7 separate regions of the Homo sapiens genome follow, and all the other regions are linked to region 7. The links are contacts of gene promoters, found by promoter capture Hi-C in blood cells and fetal thymus (Javierre and others, 2016). All regions are on one chromosome and are shown on one strand. Each heading gives the region's core, a stretch centred on a gene start or on the middle of the fragment in contact. The rest is flanking DNA. Distances are from core to core; before and after follow the strand shown.

What was found. The method cuts DNA at HindIII sites, captures the fragments that hold promoters and counts their contacts. A CHiCAGO score of 5 or more calls a contact.
Region 1: a fragment that was not itself captured here is called in contact with the fragment with the promoter of ZRANB2-AS1 in region 7 in 5 of 17 cell types (total CD8 T cells, naive CD8 T cells, fetal thymus and 2 more); the score reaches 7.3 in total CD8 T cells.
Region 2: a contact is called between a fragment that was not itself captured here and the fragment with the promoter of ZRANB2-AS1 in region 7, in 2 of 17 cell types (naive CD4 T cells and total CD8 T cells). The highest score is 5.8, in naive CD4 T cells.
Region 3: the fragment with the promoter of LRRC40 here is called in contact with the fragment with the promoter of ZRANB2-AS1 in region 7 in 15 of 17 cell types (naive CD8 T cells, total B cells, total CD8 T cells and 12 more); the score reaches 22.5 in naive CD8 T cells.
Region 4: a fragment that was not itself captured here is called in contact with the fragment with the promoter of ZRANB2-AS1 in region 7 in 4 of 17 cell types (activated CD4 T cells, naive CD8 T cells, total B cells and 1 more); the score reaches 5.8 in activated CD4 T cells.
Region 5: a contact is called between a fragment that was not itself captured here and the fragment with the promoter of ZRANB2-AS1 in region 7, in 2 of 17 cell types (total CD4 T cells and total CD8 T cells). The highest score is 7.1, in total CD4 T cells.
Region 6: a fragment that was not itself captured here is called in contact with the fragment with the promoter of ZRANB2-AS1 in region 7 in 4 of 17 cell types (naive CD4 T cells, naive CD8 T cells, total CD4 T cells and 1 more); the score reaches 8.4 in naive CD4 T cells.

Annotation. Positions count from the first base shown.
Region 1 is chr1:70,258,892-70,261,591 of GRCh38, reverse strand. ANKRD13C (ankyrin repeat domain 13C) reads left to right here. Exons shown (of 13, transcript NM_030816.5): 13 at 1-2,593. Among named protein-coding and RNA genes, the nearest start is that of SRSF11, 39 kb to the right of the region's middle. The HindIII fragment of the contact is 1,077 bases long and covers 852-1,928 here.
Region 2 is chr1:70,167,952-70,170,651 of GRCh38, reverse strand. All of the region lies in intron 9 of LRRC40 (leucine rich repeat containing 40), which reads left to right. Among named protein-coding and RNA genes, the nearest start is that of LRRC40, 36 kb to the left of the region's middle. The HindIII fragment of the contact is 1,882 bases long and covers 332-2,213 here.
Region 3 is chr1:70,204,101-70,206,848 of GRCh38, reverse strand. It overlaps LRRC40 (leucine rich repeat containing 40), which reads left to right and starts at 1,270. Exons shown (of 15, transcript NM_017768.5): 1 at 1,270-1,459. The coding sequence starts at 1,309. It also overlaps a transcript of SRSF11 not described here. RefSeq lists enhancers at 1,047-1,356, 1,617-1,676. The HindIII fragment of the contact is 8,465 bases long and covers 1-2,748 here.
Region 4 is chr1:70,149,735-70,152,434 of GRCh38, reverse strand. LRRC40 (leucine rich repeat containing 40) reads left to right here. Exons shown (of 15, transcript NM_017768.5): 12 at 1-2; 13 at 1,230-1,307. Among named protein-coding and RNA genes, the nearest start is that of LRRC40, 54 kb to the left of the region's middle. The HindIII fragment of the contact is 7,254 bases long and covers 1-2,700 here.
Region 5 is chr1:70,185,336-70,188,035 of GRCh38, reverse strand. LRRC40 (leucine rich repeat containing 40) reads left to right here. Exons shown (of 15, transcript NM_017768.5): 3 at 698-771. Among named protein-coding and RNA genes, the nearest start is that of LRRC40, 19 kb to the left of the region's middle. The HindIII fragment of the contact is 845 bases long and covers 918-1,762 here.
Region 6 is chr1:70,223,707-70,226,429 of GRCh38, reverse strand. All of the region lies in intron 1 of SRSF11 (serine and arginine rich splicing factor 11), which reads right to left. Among named protein-coding and RNA genes, the nearest start is that of SRSF11, 3.7 kb to the right of the region's middle. The HindIII fragment of the contact is 3,911 bases long and covers 1-2,723 here.
Region 7 is chr1:71,045,242-71,047,941 of GRCh38, reverse strand. ZRANB2-AS1 (ZRANB2 antisense RNA 1) reads right to left here and starts at 1,436. Exons shown (of 3, transcript NR_038420.1): 1 at 353-1,436. It overlaps PTGER3 (prostaglandin E receptor 3), which reads left to right and starts at 126. Exons shown (of 4, transcript NM_198719.2): 1 at 126-1,261. The coding sequence starts at 365. RefSeq lists an enhancer at 129-712. The HindIII fragment of the contact is 6,286 bases long and covers 1-2,700 here.

The DNA of each region.
Region 1 (2,700 bases), core at 141-2,640, 790 kb after region 7:
TGTCTCCAAAGTGATAAAATCATGTATTACTCATTTTTGCACTTAAAATTTTTCTTATTTATTCCAAGGTGGTTTGAAGGTCCAAGTATGAAAATAAATTAGGGGGATTAATGTATAACAGTTATAAAGTATCATGTTGTATTAAAGAGCTTACTTAGATTGATGTTTTTAAAATGTATCCTGATGAATGTCTCAAGAATGCATCTGTCAAGTTTTTTAGACTGACCAGTAGCTTAAACTTTTTTCAGGATTTTAGGTAATTTGAAAGGAGTTTAGAGACCCTTATTGAAAATATGATTTAAAAATCCAAAGCATAAACCGTAAGAAAAATTTTAAATAAACATCTTTAAAGCTGCATCTTCCATACTGATACATGCATTGCGTATGTTGACATTAAATACATTTTATAATGAAGAAAAATAATCATAGTAAAAAATTGAAAGACCTAATTACTACGTTACATGGACCTATTGAATTTTGGGGGAACGTGTTAGTAAACCCAGACTAGCTTTGTTGAATAGAAGTTGATCGCTGTTATTTAGGAAATGGGTAGATCAAATGACTTAGAGACTGAATTATCCTATCAGTGGTTACATGGGGTTGGAGACACTGAAAGGCAGTGATCACTGTTGCTTCTAGGCTCCCTTACTTTGTAGGAATATGGTATACTTTCAGGAATATGCTATATATGTTTTCATAAGTACAGACACCTTAGGGAAGAAAAAAAGTGGGTAATTGAAGCTTATGGTTGATTAATTTCCTAACAGCACAGCTATGAATATTTTGCTGGGGTACACTGGAGGTAGGAAGACTACTGGAAATTTTTGCACTTGAATTTTGTTTTTAAAGCTTTTTTCTTTAAAGAATGGTAGAAACAGATTATCCATTCCAAAATGTCTTTTCTCTGATCACAAAGAGCAAACAAATGTCAATATCTCTTATGATGGTGAAAAAAAGGAATTAATCGATGCAAATAAACTTTTCACAGTATTACTTTTAATGAAGATTTTTCGAAATGTGCCTTTTAATCCAGTTAATGAATGAAGCTATATGCAGTGTTTCAAATGAATAAGTCAAAACACCATATGTTTTCATAATACCACATGAAAAATCAAGATTTTGCAATGTAGGTACACAAAATTCTATATGTTCTTCTCCATTTGTGATTTTGAAACTGTTTAAATTGGTAGGGGGACAATCGTATAGTCATCTTCAATAGCCATTTAGAAATGGTTAATATTCTTGCCCACTGGTATGGTATCCAGAGAAGATATGGTTTCCATCTTTGAGAAAATAATTCTCTGATGAGACAATTTGCCCTCTGTAGATATTCACATACAGAGAATTGCCAAACTTCATAAAAGGGTAGTATGAAGTAGATGCCCTGATTTTTGTGAGTATAAGAAGTACAGATGATGGTTTGGAAACTGTCACATCTGTCTGCTGATACATGTTAGTAGATGAAAAACTGTTTCCTTCTGCTCAGAACTGGAATTAAGCCCCACTCATGCTAATAAAAATGGGTTTTTATAGTAGTATTCACATACAGTTTATTATTCACACACTGGGGGAGGGTGATGAATAATGATTATTTAATGAGCCCTCTTCCTAGTTTTCCCTAAGTCTGCAGAAGACAAAGATCCTGTTTCCAGGCCATGAAAGGACTGAAGTAAATATTGTAAATAAGTACAGCTGACCCTTGAACAACATGGAGGTTAGGGGTTCAGTTGAAAATCTGCATGTAAGTGGACCTGTGCAGTCCAAACCTGTGTTTAACTGCTGAATTAAAGGTGCTTCCTTCTGCTCATTGATATTACCCATATTTACAAACATGCTAGAGAAAAGCAACTGGTGTAAAACTTGCCCCCACTAGAGAAATGGACAGGAGGTATTAAGTCACTTGTAAAGATAGATAGCAGAACTAAGCTTGGTAAAAGCCCATGATTGTTTGTATACTATAAATTAGCCAAAACTACTCTTGCAAAGCATTTTATGTCAGAAATCTGGGGCAATAGTAACTAACTCTGGTTGCCACCTAAAAATTTCATAACATGTTAAGAATCACATTTTTTACATCATGCAAACCATCCTTACAGAGTGAGCTTACCTTGTGATGAGCTTTTTAATTGTTACAGTTCATTTTAGAAGAGTAATACTTTCAGTCATAATGGTACCTATGGTACATAGAATTACAATTTTGCTTTTTCCACACACTGAAAAATATTGAAGCAAAATCTTAAGAACTTCTAAGAAAGGTGCTTGTTAATCATTCTTGGTTTTCATCATGTTTTGCGGTGAAAATGACTTTAATTAGAGTAGAAATATTGTCTAACATAAAACCAAAAAGATAAAACCCACCACTTATTTACCTGTACCTCCCATACATAGAGTTCTTGATGACTAAAGAAGGATGACAGTAATTGGGATGTTCTAAATACAGTTGTGTGTCACTTAATGATGGGTACATGTTCTGTGGAATGCATCAGGTGATTTTGTCATTGTGAGAACCATATTGGGTGTACTTACACAAACCTAGGTGGTATAGCATACCACTCACCTAGACTATACAATAAAGCCTATTGCTCCGAGACCACAAGCTGGTTCAGCATATTACTGTTCAGCGTATTATTGTACTGAGTACTGTGGGCAATTTTAACACAATTTGTGCATTACACAAATTGTACTTACATTATATTTGTG
Region 2 (2,700 bases), core at 23-2,522, 880 kb after region 7:
TTTTATTCCTTTTGATGCTATTAGGCATATAATTGTTTTCTTAATTCCATTTTTGTGCTGTTCTTTGCAACTGTATAGGAATACAATGATTTTTGAATGCTGATCTTGTATCCTGAAACCTTGATGAAACTATTAGTTCCAATAATTTTTTGATGTATTCCTTTGGATTTTCTATATACAAGACTATGTTGTTTGCAAATAGAGATAGTTTTACTTCTTCCTTTCCAATCTGGATGCCTTTTATTCCTTTTCTTGCCTAATTCCTTTGGCTAGACCCTCCAGGACAGTACTGAATAGAAGGACTGAGACTGGACATCTTTGGGGGAAAGCTTCTAGTTTTTCATTGTTAAGTAACATTAGGTTAGCTGTGGATTTTTTGTAGATGCCCTTTATCATGTTAAGGAATTTCCCTTCTCTTTCTGGTTTTTGAGTGTGTTTGTCCTAAAAGAGTTGTTGAGTTTTTGTCAATTTTTTTTCTGCATCTGTTGAGATGGTCGTGTGATTTAAAAAATTCTGTTAATATGCTGTATTACCTTAATTGATTTTCAGATGGTAAATCAGCTTGCATCCATGGTTAAATCCCACTTAGTAATGGTGTATAATTCTTTGTAAATGTTGCTAGATTTGTTTTTTAGTGTTTTGTTGAGAATTTGAGAGTTATTCATCTGTTGTTTTCTTGTGATTTTTTTTTGTTTCTGGTTTGGGTGATAGCCTAATAATGGCATCATAAAATGAATTGGGAAATGTTCCCTCCTATTTTGTTTTTTGGGTGAATTTATGAAGAGTTGTTATTAATTTTTTGAATGTTTGGTAGAATTCAGCAGTGAAGCCATTTAGGCATGGGCTTCTCTTTGTGGCTAGGTTTTTTTTATTACTCTTCACGTGTTATAGATATACTCAGATTGTCTGTTTCTTCTTGAGTCAGTTTTGGTAGTTTTTATCTTTCTAGGAATGTGTCCATTTTATCTGAGTTGTTTAATTTGTTGGCATATAGTTGCCATAGTTTATCCTTTTCATTTTTGTAAGGTTAGTAATAATGTCCTCTCTTTCATTTCTGATTCTAGTAATGTGAGTCTTCTCTCTTTTTTTCTAGGCCACACTAGCTGGATATTAGTCAGTTTTGTTGACTTTCCAAAGGATGAGCGTTTAGTTTCATTGATCTTCTCTATTGTTTTTCTGTTCTCTATTTCATTAATTAACACTCTAATTATTTATTTCCTTCTAATTGGTTTAGGTTTCTATTGCAGTTGTGACTGACTGGGGCCAGCGTTCTGGGTGGTTAAAGAATTTACCAAGACAGTTGTAGTAAAGAAAGGCAGATTTATTAGAGAAAGTACAAAGATATGTTGCAAGGGTGCAACAAGTAGCACAGCAGAGAAGGGGCTGTCTGCCAAGAGGCAGGTGCTGGAGGGGAGTTTTATAGGTTCATGCTTGGAGTGGGCTATGTGGAACGAGGTCTTGCTGCTGGGGCTGTGTACAGAGCGAGGTATTTGGGAACAGGATGTTGTGCCAGCAAGTTGTCTGTGATTAGAGTTGTCTATGATTAGCTGTCTCTTGGAACAATTGTTCTCCCCCACCTGGGACCCCTTTTCATTGTTGCTTACTTATCTCATCAGGACTCCAGAGTTTAGTTTGTTCTTTTTTTCTAGTATCTTAGGGTGGAAAGTTAGGTTATTGATTTTGGGATCTTGTTTCTTGACATAGGCATTTATAGCTAAAATTTCCCTCTAAGCATGGCTTTATCTACAGCTCATACGTTTTGGTATGTTGTGTCATTTTCATTTATCTCAAAGTATTTTATGATTTCTCTTTTGATACCTTCTTTGGCCCATTGGTTGTTTAAGGATATGTTGTTAAATTTCCATTATAATGTGCCCCTGACATAAAAAAATGTTTTGAGTCTGTTTTGCCTGATACTGTTATAGACACTCAGCTTTTCTGTAGTTGTCTTATTCCTTGGTTCTCTCCTGTGAGCTAGCTTGTGTACAGTCTGCTTGTATACAGTCTAGGCTGTATCTTCAGTAGATCCAGGAATTTCATCCCAACTGCCTTTTACCATAACCTTCATTGTTTTTGAGAGCTTTCATGCTTTGTTGTGAGTGAAGTCAGTTCCCTTGGGAAGAGATTAGGAACTGTTTTTATGACCTGTTTCTCCCCCAGGCAAAATCTTTGAGCACAGGCTGTGAAGCTGGGAATATGGAAGATGGCAAGCTTCTCTAAGAGTAACACTCTCCTCTAGGAGCTGAACACTCAGTAGAAGGAGTCAGCAATAGACTTAGGTTCTCTTGGTTTGCCTCTCCTTTCTTTGAACCAGCAACTTATGAGCCAGGGGAAGAGCAGTCAGGGCCCCAGTATTCTCATCATGCCAAGCTCAAGGTAGAGCCTCCTTTCTGTGCATGTGACCAGAGTGGAAGAAGGGAGTCCTCACCCTACTCATCAGGGATTTAGCATTAGCAACAGGAAGCTGGTGGCAGGATGAGAAATGCTGACACTCCTCTCAGGAAGAAAGCCCTCTGGCTGGGAGATAGGGTTTGGGGCTGGAGGGTTGGGGGAGAGGGAACCCTGTGTTCTCAGTTGTAGCCTTCTGGAGTGGAGTTTCTGCCTCTCTGACCTAGAAGAGGGGAGAGAGGGAGCAGTCTAGGTTCAAATACCACAGACTCACCTCTTACAAAATTTCCATAGATTTTCTTGAACAGCTAT
Region 3 (2,748 bases), core at 21-2,520, 840 kb after region 7:
ATTGGTAACTTTCTCTTGTTCGATATTAGTGTAAAGGACTCCACAGAAATAAGAACAAAAAGGGTAGAGTTAAAAACCGAATTTTACAGGTAGCAATAACCTGGACTCAGGTAAAAGTGCGTGATGAAGAATTGATCAAAGGGCCTTCATCCTAGCTTTCAACTATTCTACCAATCCTCAGTAGACTTGATGGGGGTTAGAATGGTATTCCCTGGCATATGCTTTTAAAACAAAATCATTTCAGGCAAAAGAAAAGTCTAGCACCCAGGATAGTACACATACTAGGCAGGATTAATCTTAATAATTACTTGTTGAATCAAGAAGTTGTACATTTCAGATGAAAATTTTAATTTCCTAGGAAACACCGACTTACATTGAACAAAATTTTCATTTGCTATTATTCTGGACTCACCGAGAGCTCAAGATTCTAGTTTTTATCTTCACTTATTTCAAAAACCTTATGCGGTAGGAATTATCCCCAAAGTAATGAAAAAAAGGAATGAGCTTTAAAAGCGGTTGAGTAAACTGCCTAAAGTTAACAGTTTCTAAAGTAAAGAAGCAGCTGAGATTTGAACTTGCTTTTTAGGGCTCAAAAATCCAAGCTGTCTGAGCTTCACTAAAGCATGTACCACTACTTGTCTCCCTAAACTGTCTGATACACAGAACATTTATTAAATTTTAAGGATTTTTGTTTTTGTCTTCTATGTTGCCAGTCCTTCCATTTCACATTACCTCCTTTGCTGGGTAAGCTATATACCCTCAATACAACGAGAATGGTGTCAGAGTACAAGCCTTAAGAACAGAAAATTTCTTTTACTCCGTACGCCAGAGGTCTGGCGCCACCACCACAAGCGACAAACACAGGCTGGGGTCCAGAAACGCTGCCGACCGCGCCCAGATCTCAAGTTTTAGTCAAGGCCCACGTTCAGACTAGGAGAGGGGAGAAGAGAGGGTTCTCTTTCCCCACACCCTCGCCACGGTGGAAGCACAGAGGAGAAGGTTGGAGTCGCAGTAACAGTGCAAACAATAAACCCGAAAGCCCCTCTTAAGCCCGTTAAACGCACTTACTTGATTGAAGTAATTCCAGGACGCTAGGCCGGCACCGGCAACGGAAAAGGCTTCTCTGTCCTCCAGCCCAGGCGCTGGTGCTGACGACATCTGGACTGCGCCGCAGAGAGTGAAGGCCCAGCGCGAGGCCGCGAGCCCAGCGCCCAGAGCGCGCGCTCACGAAAGGAGCGGGGCATCCCAACGGCGCCACCTTTAAGCGTCACGGGTGGGGCTGCAGCTTCTGGACCTAGGACTTTGAACATGTCGCGCCTGAAGCGGATAGCGGGGCAGGATCTCCGCGCTGGTTTCAAAGCAGGTGGAAGAGACTGCGGTACCTCGGTACCCCAAGGGCTGTTGAAGGCAGCGAGGAAGAGCGGCCAGTTAAACCTGTCGGGTAGAAACCTCAGTGAAGGTAAGACCCAGAGGTACGACCCTATTGTGTCTCCTGTCAGAAAGCCTTTGGCCCAGGCAACCTCCCTTTTCTCTGGGCTGGCTTTGGCCCCCTTTCTCAGACTGCTAGCCAGAATTTCTGTGCTCTAATCTAATCCCTGTGCTCATTTCGACCGGTTTGGTTAGCCCAGTTCAGTTCCTTCCCAGGTTCCCGCAATCTCTGTTAAAGGGACCCTGCTAAAAATACGGTCTAAATTTAAACGGGGCGCTTTCTGGGATTCCCACATTCTGTGGGATAAGCAACATAATATGTGACGAAACCAGCTATCAAATCACGGGCAAATCTTTTGTTTCTTTGGCCCTTATTTTCCTCCTCTTATTGTAATCTTCAAGGGCAATTACCAAAGCTAAAATTATATGTTTTATCGGCCCCTTTGTGAACCTGCACTGTTCCCTGCCGAGACGCTCTTCTGTATGCAGCTGTGCAGAGTTCTACTTACAAGGAATAATGAGTATATTTTCTAAGTTGAAGATCAGGATAGATGCCACACAGAGTGTTTGAATGTGGGGACATCCTGAGAAACCTGTTAAAGACCAAGAAGCACAAATCTGGGTACCATGAATGAATGGCCAGATGCTCTTCTGATTGTCGTGTGTGTGTGTGTGTGTGTGTGTGTGTAAGAGAGAGAGGGAGGGGAATGGAGAGATGGAGAAATAGAGCATTTTTCCTGTAATGTTTTTCTTCATTTATATTTAGGTTTTAAGACTGATTAAAACCTTCCATTTTCCTTCTAATGATTGCTTTCTTATTGTGACATGTATAAAGTAGATTAGGCAAGCAAATGCTTCTGAATGAATGAAAAGACACAGAATCCTTACTCCACCTAAAAGAGTTTTTGATCAATGGGAACATACTCATTTTCAAACTACAGTTGTGCATATATATATATCTACTTGGTTTCCCCAAAACCTGAAACATTTTTCTCTAAACTTGCATACCTATCATGCTAACATTCTGTTCTCTTACCTGTTTAATTTTTTAACAGCATTTATCACTATCAGAATTTATATCATTTATGTTTTTTGTTTTCTCTGCCCTCCAACCAAAAGGTTAATATCATGAAGTCAGTGAGCTTTGTTTTGTGCTTTGTTGTATTTCTATCACTGAAAATAGTGCTTGGTACATAGTAGAGTCTTATTAAATTTTGCGGAAGCAATAAGTAAGTGAATGAGTATTCTCAAATCATAAGTGGTGTGCTAGAATGTACTTATTGACTAGACTCAGGTGGTTTCGTCTGTTAAACTTTAAGA
Region 4 (2,700 bases), core at 148-2,647, 900 kb after region 7:
AGGTATTTATTGATACTATTGCTTGACTTTTTAAAAAGTTATAACTTGTCTTTGAGTTTTGTCTAACTTATTCTTTTTACCTCATATTTTCCTAGGTATGTATGGAAACTGGCCTTTATTTATTAACAATAGTTTAGGAGAATCCAAAAATAGTGTTTAGGAAACCCGAGACAGAATTCAGGAAAAATACTGTAATCAGACATTTATAATTTGTAAGCAATTTACAAGTTACGTCATAAGACAAAATTACTGAAAATATTAACCCATTCTAAGCAAAATTACAAATAAGACATGGAAAGTATTTTTTTCACATTGTTTATTTTCTGAAAGTAAATAGTATAAAACCAGCTGAGTGGGTTATTCAACACAACTTAATGCAGACAATAACTGGAGAAAAGTACAGAGAATGTAGATATAGAAAAAGAATATAGCTTGTACTGTAGAAAGTATGACTTTACATATTAGGCTTGACTTCTGAACACAAAGAAATAGGTTAGAGAAAAATATTTATTTGTAATAGGTAGTCATCTAGTTGGGAATAATTTTCTCACAGGTATTTTCATTATTAGTAGTTATATTGGCTCCTAAAATCCTTTTACCTTTTTGTTAACTTTTCTTCTAACATTGCTCCCAGATCTTTCCAACAGTAAATGAGATTTTGTTTATTGCCATGTTTCATTGTAAGAGCTAAAAAAAAAAAATAGTCATTGTGTAAATTTAAATTCTAAACTTAGAGTAGGAATAGATTTGCTTTATACCTATGGAGTAGAAAACTCCAAATCTCTTAATAGAATCTTTTTAACTTCTTGGTTCATTTTTAAAATAATTTTTAAATTCCTCTTAGAGTAGAATTTCATGTCTGTGTCATATATATTAACACCAATGGAATATTTATGTGGTATTATAGACATGGGGGAAATATTAAATACCCCACTTTGAAGGAGCTAATTAGTTTACAGTGTTTACCCTGTAATCACTATTAAACCTGTAAAGAATTCATTGCATTATCAATTGGTTGCATATTGGTATTATTAGGATTTGGCATACTAACCGAATAACTGCGGTAGGTGACTGATTCAGAATTCTCAGAACTCAGCCTTTATAAAGTCAGATCAAGGATTGACAAACTGATCTACATATTTTTTTTTCCTGCTCAATATTTTAATTATAAATTAAACTTGTAAAATTTTTCAAACTTTGTAAATCTTCTGTTTTGATTTCCAATTTAGGAACAATTTTTTAAATTCTTTGCCAGAAGAAATGGAATCACTGGTAAGACTGCAAACGATCAATCTTTCCTTTAATAGGTAAGAGAACAGACAATTCTAATTGTTATTCTGTGGAAATATGTAGATCTTTCTCATTGGAGAAAACAAAAGCCAAAAAAACAAAAAGGCCCCTTCTACTTTATTTCAATATCCAGATTTTATTTTCACTTAGTTCTTCTTAGAGTTAAAAATATTATTTTCTTAGAATTCTCATAGTTGATGTCTAACATATTTTTCATTCCTTTTTACCATTTTGAGAAACCTGTGGCCTAAAAAGACAAAATAAATAATTACAATTGCTCTAATGGAAGGATAGTGCACAGGAAAATGTCTTCTGAGATTACTTTAAGGTAGAGGAGATAGCATTGAAACTGAGGTTTGAAAAATAGACATTTGCCAGCCATTCAGGTAGAGAGCATTCTAGTTAGAGCTAATAGCATATGCCAAGGCACAAAGATGTGAGAACATATGGGGTGTCTGGGAAACTTCAAGAAGTTCAATGTGCTTTGGACAATAAAGCAAACAGGTAGAGGAGTAGAAGGAACAGATAAAGTCTGGCAAGTAAGCAGTAGCCAGACCTTGAGCTTTTTGTGCTCAACGAAACTTAGATTTTGTTCTGCAAACACTATCAAGATACTGCAGATAATTAAGAGCAACTAATATTTATTGGGAGCTTATTATTCTGCTGGTGCTGTACTAAGTACTTTACATGTAATAGCTCAGGCTTACAAGAACCCTACATGGTAGGTTCTGTTACTGTGTTCATTTAAAAATCAAGGATTAGAAGCTAAATAACTCATCTAAGGTATGCATAAATAGTAAATTATACAGCTGAGATTTGAGTCCAGGTGGTTTGGCTCCAGAAGTTGGGCTCTTAACAACTATGTCACATTGTTTCTTATGATGAAAATGGATTCTAAAAACAATTTAATTAAAATATGAATAACTGGCCAGGTGCAGTGACTGACACCTGTAATCCCAGCACTTTGGAAGGCCGAGGTGGGCGGATCACCTGAGGTCAGGAGTTTGAGACCAGCCTGGCCGATATGGTGAAACTCCATCTCTACTAAAAATACAAAAATTAGCCAGGCGTGGTGGTGGCCTGTAAACCCAGCTACTCAGGAGGCTGAGGCAGGAGAATCGCTTGAACCCCAGGAGGCAGAGGTTGCAGTGATCCAGGATTGCGTCACTGCACTCCAGCCTAGGCGACAGAGCAAGACTCTGTCTCAAAAAATAAATAAAATTTAAAAAATAAAATATTAGCAGCTAATGTTTAATGCAACCTAGATAATGTCCTAAGGTCTTCAAATACATTCATTTAATCCTTATAACAAGTGTATATGTTTAGTACTATTATTATTCCTCATTTATAGATGAGGAAGCTAATGCATAGTGATGTTAAAATATTGCTCATTTTAATTTTTCTTCTGTC
Region 5 (2,700 bases), core at 91-2,590, 860 kb after region 7:
TATTGACATAAATCATATCATCAGAGAGCTGTTTTTAGTTTCTAACCCCCTCATCTCTTCTTTGAAATTGAAACTCTACTAATGAGTTGAAATTTTTCTTAGTATAATATTTAAAGTGGTTGACTTAACACTTCATGACTTCTCTTCTCTTCTCTTCTCTTCTCTTCTCTTCTCTTCTCTTCTCTTCTCTTCTCTTCCATTTTTTGAGACAGGGTCTCACTCTGTAGCCCAGGCTGGAGTGCAGTGGCACAATGTGGGCTCACTGCAGCCTTGACCTCCTAGGCTCAAGCAATCTTCCCACCTCAGCCTTCTGAGTAGATGGGGCTACAGGTGTGCGCCACTACGCCTGACTAATAAGAATTTTTTTTTTTTTTGTAGAGACAAGGTCTCACTAATTTGCCTAGGCTAGTCTCAAACTCCTGGGTACAAGCGATTTGCCTTCTTCGGCCTCCCAAAGTGCTGGGATTACAGGTGTGAGCCACTGCACCTGGCCTTACTTCATGATTTCTGAACAGCCGTTTGGTCATCTTCAAACTGTTCTACATACAGAACAAGTATGTTGAACAGTAGTTCAACTTGTTGCCATTGAATTTGAGGAACAGGAGATTACTGACTAATAGTTTTGTACACTGGCAAAGCTTATATATTGTTAATGATAAGACTAAGAATATTGACTTTGTCTTTTAAAAACTTTTAGATACATGATAATCAGTTGACATCCCTTCCTTCTGCTATAAGAGAGCTAGAAAATCTTCAGAAACTTAATGTCAGGTAAAAATTAAGCTTATTTACTTATATTATTGCCCTTATAATGGTTTAAATCTAATATTCTTTAAATTTTCTCAACATTAAAAATATCTTTGAATTATCTCAGAAAGTAGTTAAAGCAGAATAAGAATTTTAAGTTTTTTAAAGCTTTAATTCTTAGTTTGTATGTTTTTTTCTTTGTTTTAGCATTACCCCCATCATTTCTGATTTTATAAATGCAAGGCTAGTTGATTTTTTTTAAATGCTTAAATTTTTTTTTTTTTATAAAACAATTCTTAGTGGTTTGTTATTGTAGTAAACCTCTTTGTTGATGTCTCAACTTTTAAGTTACCTTGATATTCTAAAAATATCTAAACAATAAGGAAGAAATGTAAAACAATTCTTTCATAAATGAAATACTTCATAGTTTTTATTAGTAGTCGTTTTTAAACTTCTCCAAGGACTCCTGGGATTCTACGGATATATTTTTGTAACTGTCATGGACATACTGGTACATGGGATGTTCAGTGGCAAAGATTGTAGCTAACTCTGTTTGCTCTCTGATACATACCCAGACTTTTAAGAAAGAATAACTTTGCCTTTGTTTGTTATATAGACATAGGCTATGGGAAAGGAGATTTAAAGAGGTCTTATTTTGGAGTAGAAAAAAATGGTTCAGGAACTTAAAGCATAGTTTGAAAAACTGTGGCTTATAAAATAGATACGGTTACAGATCTATGTAATGTAATATAGTCAAGTTTGTTTTCTGGAGATAAGCTAACTGGTTTGAGGGAAAATAGTCCCTCCCAGTAACACTCCTTATTTGGTGGAAAACATAAAATTACCATTGGCCAATGAAAATATATATACATAAAAAGGTGCTAATTATTTAGAACTCCATCACAGTATCTTCCCCTTACAAGTCAAAGGCATAGACGTGGCCTGTAAAGACAAGAGTGGGGATTGTTGAGAGGAAGAGAGGAAGCAGTAAGTGTTGAGTGACATGGCTTAAGCTTTAGATTCTATACTTAAGAGTATGTAGGTGTGTTCTCAGTGAAGAAGTTTAAAAAAAGTATGAATCTTAGGATGGAGTAATTAGCTAAGAAAAGGAGATGGAGGAAATCTATAGCTAAAATTATCTCTCTCCCCAGTTAGATCCCTATCAAGTGTGCAAAGATTTCAGCTAGGTAACCAATAACAGTAACCGACTTAACAATATTATTGGTTCTTGTTTTAGAAGACATCATTTGACTTTTTTTGTCCCAACTAGTTTTATTTTACTGTAATTTAGGGTTATTGTAAGCACCTTGTATTTCCCATTTTCCCCCTGTTATTTGTAAAGTAACTGTATATGGCATGAAAATAGCATGGAATTCGTAAGTGAGTATTTAAGTTGTGATAAACCTGGGAACTAGTTCAGTCATCTCTTAATTATCATGAAGTCTATCATCCTCCATGATTTGGGACTTCTAAACCATTACACTGAATATCTCTACAGAAGGGCTTAACTGAAAAGACCAAGTATGAAGAAGAGTGGAATTCCATATTACATTCAACTTGACATCCTAGGTCCTCAAACAGAAATAGCTATTTTTGCCTTAAAACCGAACATATAAGATGTAACTCCATTGTGGTATATGTGTGCATATAGTTTTGTCAAAATTCTGAAAGTCAGTTATAGTATGTATTAGTCCGTTTTCATGCTGCTGATAAAGACATACCCGAGACTGGGAAGAAAAAGAGGTTTAATTGGACTTACAGTTCCACATGGCTGGGGATGCCTCAGAATCATGGTGGGAGGCAAAAGGCACTTCTTACATGGCAGCAGCAGGAGAAAAATGAGGAAGATGCAAAATTGGAAACCCCTGATAAAACCATCAGGACTCATGAGACTTATTCACTACCACGAGAACAGTATGGGGGAAACCGCTCCCATGATTCATACTATCTCCC
Region 6 (2,723 bases), core at 76-2,575, 820 kb after region 7:
TTTTTCCTACTCATTAATGGCATAGGAATGCTCCAATTATTTTGGCTATATCAAAACCTGTTAAGTGATGGTAGGGTACAGATTAAATATGAATTTGAATACTGTGAATAAGAAATATAATTTCATCTCTCTCCACTTCAAATGGCCTCCTTTAGATGGGTTTAAAACAAGTTTTTGATGGTATCTGGGCCCACAATTACATTCTTAACATTTTTTCGATTAAAATTTTTTTTTTTTTGAGATGGAGTTTCACTCTTGTTGCTCAGGCTGGAGCGCAATGGCACGATCTCGGCTCACCGCAACCTCCACCTCCCAGGTTCAAGCGATTCTCCTGCCTCAGCCTCCCAAGTAGCTGGGATTACACGCACACGCCACCACGTCCGGCTAATTTTTCTATTTTTAGCAGAGATGGGGTTTCACCATGTTAGTCAGGCTGGTCTTGAACTCCTGACCTCAGGTGATCCACCCGCCTCAGCCTCCTAATAAAATTTATCTTAATAAGATAATATGTTAATATAAGATAGAGGACTGATGCCTGAAATTAATTTTTGTGCTCTAAAATTCTGTGGAAGTACTGCTTCCAAATACGACACATATTTTACTCCGTATCTCTTTAGAATTAATATAAAGTAGGGAGAAATGAGGAACAAGATAGGGTAAAGTGAGTCCTGCATGCCACTTCTGTCCTCCAACTAAGAGCGGTGGTGTAGTTTTTAACAGTTCTTACGTGTCCTCTGAGGGCTATTTCAGAATCTTCTAGACTACAGAGAGAAAACCTGAGATTTCCGTTGTTCACCTAAGGGTCTGTAGAGAATCTTTTTTACATGAAGGCCCAGATTCTTAACAAGGTATTCATGCCTACTAACGTACGAGAACTTCAGGTTTAGGCCACTGATATCAGCCTTCCAATTTCCACCTTAATAGTGTGCTAAGTGGAGAATTTCGAGCTCATAAATAAAAGTATCGCCAACCCACAAAAGGAGGTGTGTGACAAAGACGACATTAACCTGAAAACTTGACTGCTGACCTCATGTGCCCCCTTCTCACTATGTAAAGAAATATACAATAAAATGGTGCATCAATTAAAACCATTTTTTCTTTAAAGGTGCACTAAACTCTTTCCCTTACCTAATATACTAATTTATACTTATATAACCATTAAAGTATCCATTTTGGGTCACTGAAAAGTTACTAATGAACTTCAATGTATCTCCGTATTACAGCAGCCTTAAGTTACTGCATAACTGTGACATACTTCACTGGGATCATCACCTGATAAGCACTTTGCTGGGCAATCCCACTAAAAGAAAGCATGTGAAGATCTTACAAGTTACTTGGCTAAATCAGCAAACTCCTGATCAAGTGGTAAAGGAGAGTCACAACTTGGGTTCAAGTTCTAGTTCTGACATTGGCAGTATGGCTTGGGCATACAAAAAATACCTATGTAAATTTCAGTTCACGAACTTGTAAAACAGGGTCAAAAACATTTTTTTCCTCCAGGTTTGTAAGGATTAAGGTACATTTAGAAAGCAACTCACACACAATAGATATTCAAACAATGCTGCATTTCCAGTACGCATTTCAGAAACAACCAGAATCAAAATAACAGTTTAACAAAGAGTATATGTGGGGTTCAACTTTCAAATACCTGCAAAGCCATCATGCTGTAGAGACAGTTAGAATATCACCTATTGTAAAGATAGTATTTCTATTTCTCAGTAAAATTACAGGCCAGAAATTCTGGTTTAAAAGAAGGAATAAATAGATGGACTTAACAATGACAATGCAGGAAACCTCCTAGAGCAGGTTGTCATTGAAATGTCTGTCATAATCCCAGAAATGTTTCCCCAAAATAGGCATTCAGAACCGAAATGAAGAGCTTCAGTAGGTGTGGGTGAGGTTCAGTCATACATGTATTTTAAAGCACCTCATATTCTACAGGAGAGAAGTTGTTAAACTTAACCTGTCAACTGGTGACAGGTGCTATAGAAAAAAAGTAGTGTTAAGGAGAATAAAGCAGCAGCAGAGGTGCTTTATTTTACATAGGGTGGTCTGGGAAGTTTTCTCTGATTAAGGTGACATCGGAAAAATAAAAGTAGTTAAGCATGTCACAGATATGTCTAGGGGAAAAAGAGTTACAGGTGCATGTCACTGCCTTCTTGGGGGAAATCATATAGTTTTCCCTCAGTATCCATGGTTTCAGGACTCCCTGCAGATAACAAAATCCACAGATGCTCAAGTCTCTTATATAACATGATGCAGGGAGGGGGAAGAGGTGGAGGAAAAATAAAATCATGGCATATTACCTGTGCACATCCTCTTGCATACTTTAAATCTCGTGATTACTTATAATACCTAATACAATGTAAATAGTTGCTATACTGTACTGTTTAGGGAATGACAAGAAAAAAGTCTGTACATGTTCAGTACAGACGTTCTCTCCTTATATTTTCAATTCACAGTGGGCTGAATCCATGGATGTGGAACCCAGAGATGAAGAAGGCCAACTGTGTAGATAATAGTTACAATCAGGTGACCTGTTCACAACAGATAGAATTTTATGTAATCTGAGCCATTCAATGTTATGAATAAATATTTTTGGAATGATGAACCCTGTGGACCACTGGGAACTATATGCAACTTGTGCCAGTCAGATTAGTGTATTGAAACTTATAGTTAAAAAAACAAAATGCAACATCAAGTAAATAAAAGTAGCCATCTAC
Region 7 (2,700 bases), core at 187-2,686:
TCAGGATAGGCAACAGCCAAGAGAGGCGCTCAGTTGCTTTGCACCCTCCTCCCACCTCGGTTCTGTCCACACCCACGGGCGCCCCGCCCCCTCGGCCTTATAAAGGGGACTCGGCACCTCCGCGCGCCTCGCCACCAGAGGTTTCCCAGAGAGGAAGGCGTGGCTCCCTCCCGGGCCAGTGAGCCCTGGCGCCGCCGCGGCCGCGGTCCCAGCAGCGGAGTAGGGCGGCGGCTGCGCCCCGCACCATGGGGGGCAGCCCAGCCCCAGCCGCGGTAAACGCCGACCTCCGCCGCCGCCCGCGCCGCGTCTGCCCCCTCCCGCTGCGGCTCTCTGGACGCCATCCCCTCCTCACCTCGAAGCCAACATGAAGGAGACCCGGGGCTACGGAGGGGATGCCCCCTTCTGCACCCGCCTCAACCACTCCTACACAGGCATGTGGGCGCCCGAGCGTTCCGCCGAGGCGCGGGGCAACCTCACGCGCCCTCCAGGGTCTGGCGAGGATTGCGGATCGGTGTCCGTGGCCTTCCCGATCACCATGCTGCTCACTGGTTTCGTGGGCAACGCACTGGCCATGCTGCTCGTGTCGCGCAGCTACCGGCGCCGGGAGAGCAAGCGCAAGAAGTCCTTCCTGCTGTGCATCGGCTGGCTGGCGCTCACCGACCTGGTCGGGCAGCTTCTCACCACCCCGGTCGTCATCGTCGTGTACCTGTCCAAGCAGCGTTGGGAGCACATCGACCCGTCGGGGCGGCTCTGCACCTTTTTCGGGCTGACCATGACTGTTTTCGGGCTCTCCTCGTTGTTCATCGCCAGCGCCATGGCCGTCGAGCGGGCGCTGGCCATCAGGGCGCCGCACTGGTATGCGAGCCACATGAAGACGCGTGCCACCCGCGCTGTGCTGCTCGGCGTGTGGCTGGCCGTGCTCGCCTTCGCCCTGCTGCCGGTGCTGGGCGTGGGCCAGTACACCGTCCAGTGGCCCGGGACGTGGTGCTTCATCAGCACCGGGCGAGGGGGCAACGGGACTAGCTCTTCGCATAACTGGGGCAACCTTTTCTTCGCCTCTGCCTTTGCCTTCCTGGGGCTCTTGGCGCTGACAGTCACCTTTTCCTGCAACCTGGCCACCATTAAGGCCCTGGTGTCCCGCTGCCGGGCCAAGGCCACGGCATCTCAGTCCAGTGCCCAGTGGGGCCGCATCACGACCGAGACGGCCATTCAGCTTATGGGGATCATGTGCGTGCTGTCGGTCTGCTGGTCTCCGCTCCTGGTAGGTAGTTCCAGGGTTGGGGGAAGTCAGGATGCGTGTGCGAGTAAGCGGGAACCTAAGACTTTGCTAAGTGGCAGCACCCGCAGGGGTGTGTTTGCAACCGCAGAGCGCTGAAGTGTCCTTTCCTCCTGCCCGCGCGGTCTTGGTTACAGCTTCAGAGCTGAGCTCCTCACTTACTAGCTGAGCGCCTTCCAAGAGCCAGGATTCGCATTAGGCACTGTTTATGAGCACATAGAGATCACAGGGCTGCTCACATTCTAGTCGGGTAGGAGACAGGATGTGTCATTGAAATGACATATATGCAGAGCTAGAAGTTTGTCCTGAGTGCATTAAAAGCAGAATTGCTATGATAACTGTAGCCTGATATTGTGGGGTTTTTTTTTTTTTTTTTTTTTGAGACGGAGTCTCGCTCTGTCACCCAGGCTGGAGTACAGTGGCGCAGCCTCGGCTCACTGCAAGCTCCGCCTCCCGGGTTCACGCCATTCTCCTGCCTCAGCCTCTCCGAGTAGCTGGGACTACAGGCGCCCGCCACCACGCCCGGCTAATTTTTTTTTTTTATTTTTAGTAGAGACGGGGTTTCACCGTGGTCTCGATCTCCTGACCTCGTGATCCACCCGCCTCGGCCTCCCAAAGTGCTGGGATTACAAGCGTGAGCCACCGCGCCCGGCCGGGTTTTTTTTTTTTAATTTCAAATTCCTCTTTCACGTTAATAAGATTTTCAGTCTGCAACCCCATACAGTCACAGCCCTCCTGCAGCTTCTGAAAGACTGCGCGACCTATGGGTGCCTTCAAGGTTCATTCTTGATGAGGCAGGAGAATGAAAGATACGAGTTGCCTCCTCAGCCTTTCGCCATGGTGCTTGACCCTCTAGGAAGTGCCCGAACGACAGTCAGTGGGATCCGGAAGCTCAGCAGCTTCTTCAGGCCAGCATTTACTTACCCTTGTAGCACTCAAGCAGGGTTCGCTAATCCTGAGATAGGAGGTAGAGGTTTCTCCATGTCCTAGCTCCTCACACCAGAGCAATGCAGAGGAGCAAGGGATGTTTGCAGAGGCTCTTTGCCTAACACCTGCCCTTACGTGATATTTTTGAGGTTTTTTTGTCTGTGTTACTTTTAGCTAGAAATGTCCGTGTGTAAGTGCTGTTTACTAATTCCTGAAGAATGGATGCTTACTTAGGCCCTGGGGTGTCTGGGTTAATAGATGTTGCAGAAAGAGCGATATGGTCACTGTTACAAAGGTATAACCAACTATATGTATTATACAGTTGTGGAAAACCTTTGAAACACGTGAACGCAGTTTTTTTTCTTTCCTAATTATGGTAAAATATATTACATACAATTCAGTATTTTAACCATTATTATGTGTACAGTTCAGTGGCATTAGGCATTAAGTACGTTGAGTTTTTTGTGCGCCATGTATACTTTTAAATCCCTTGCATT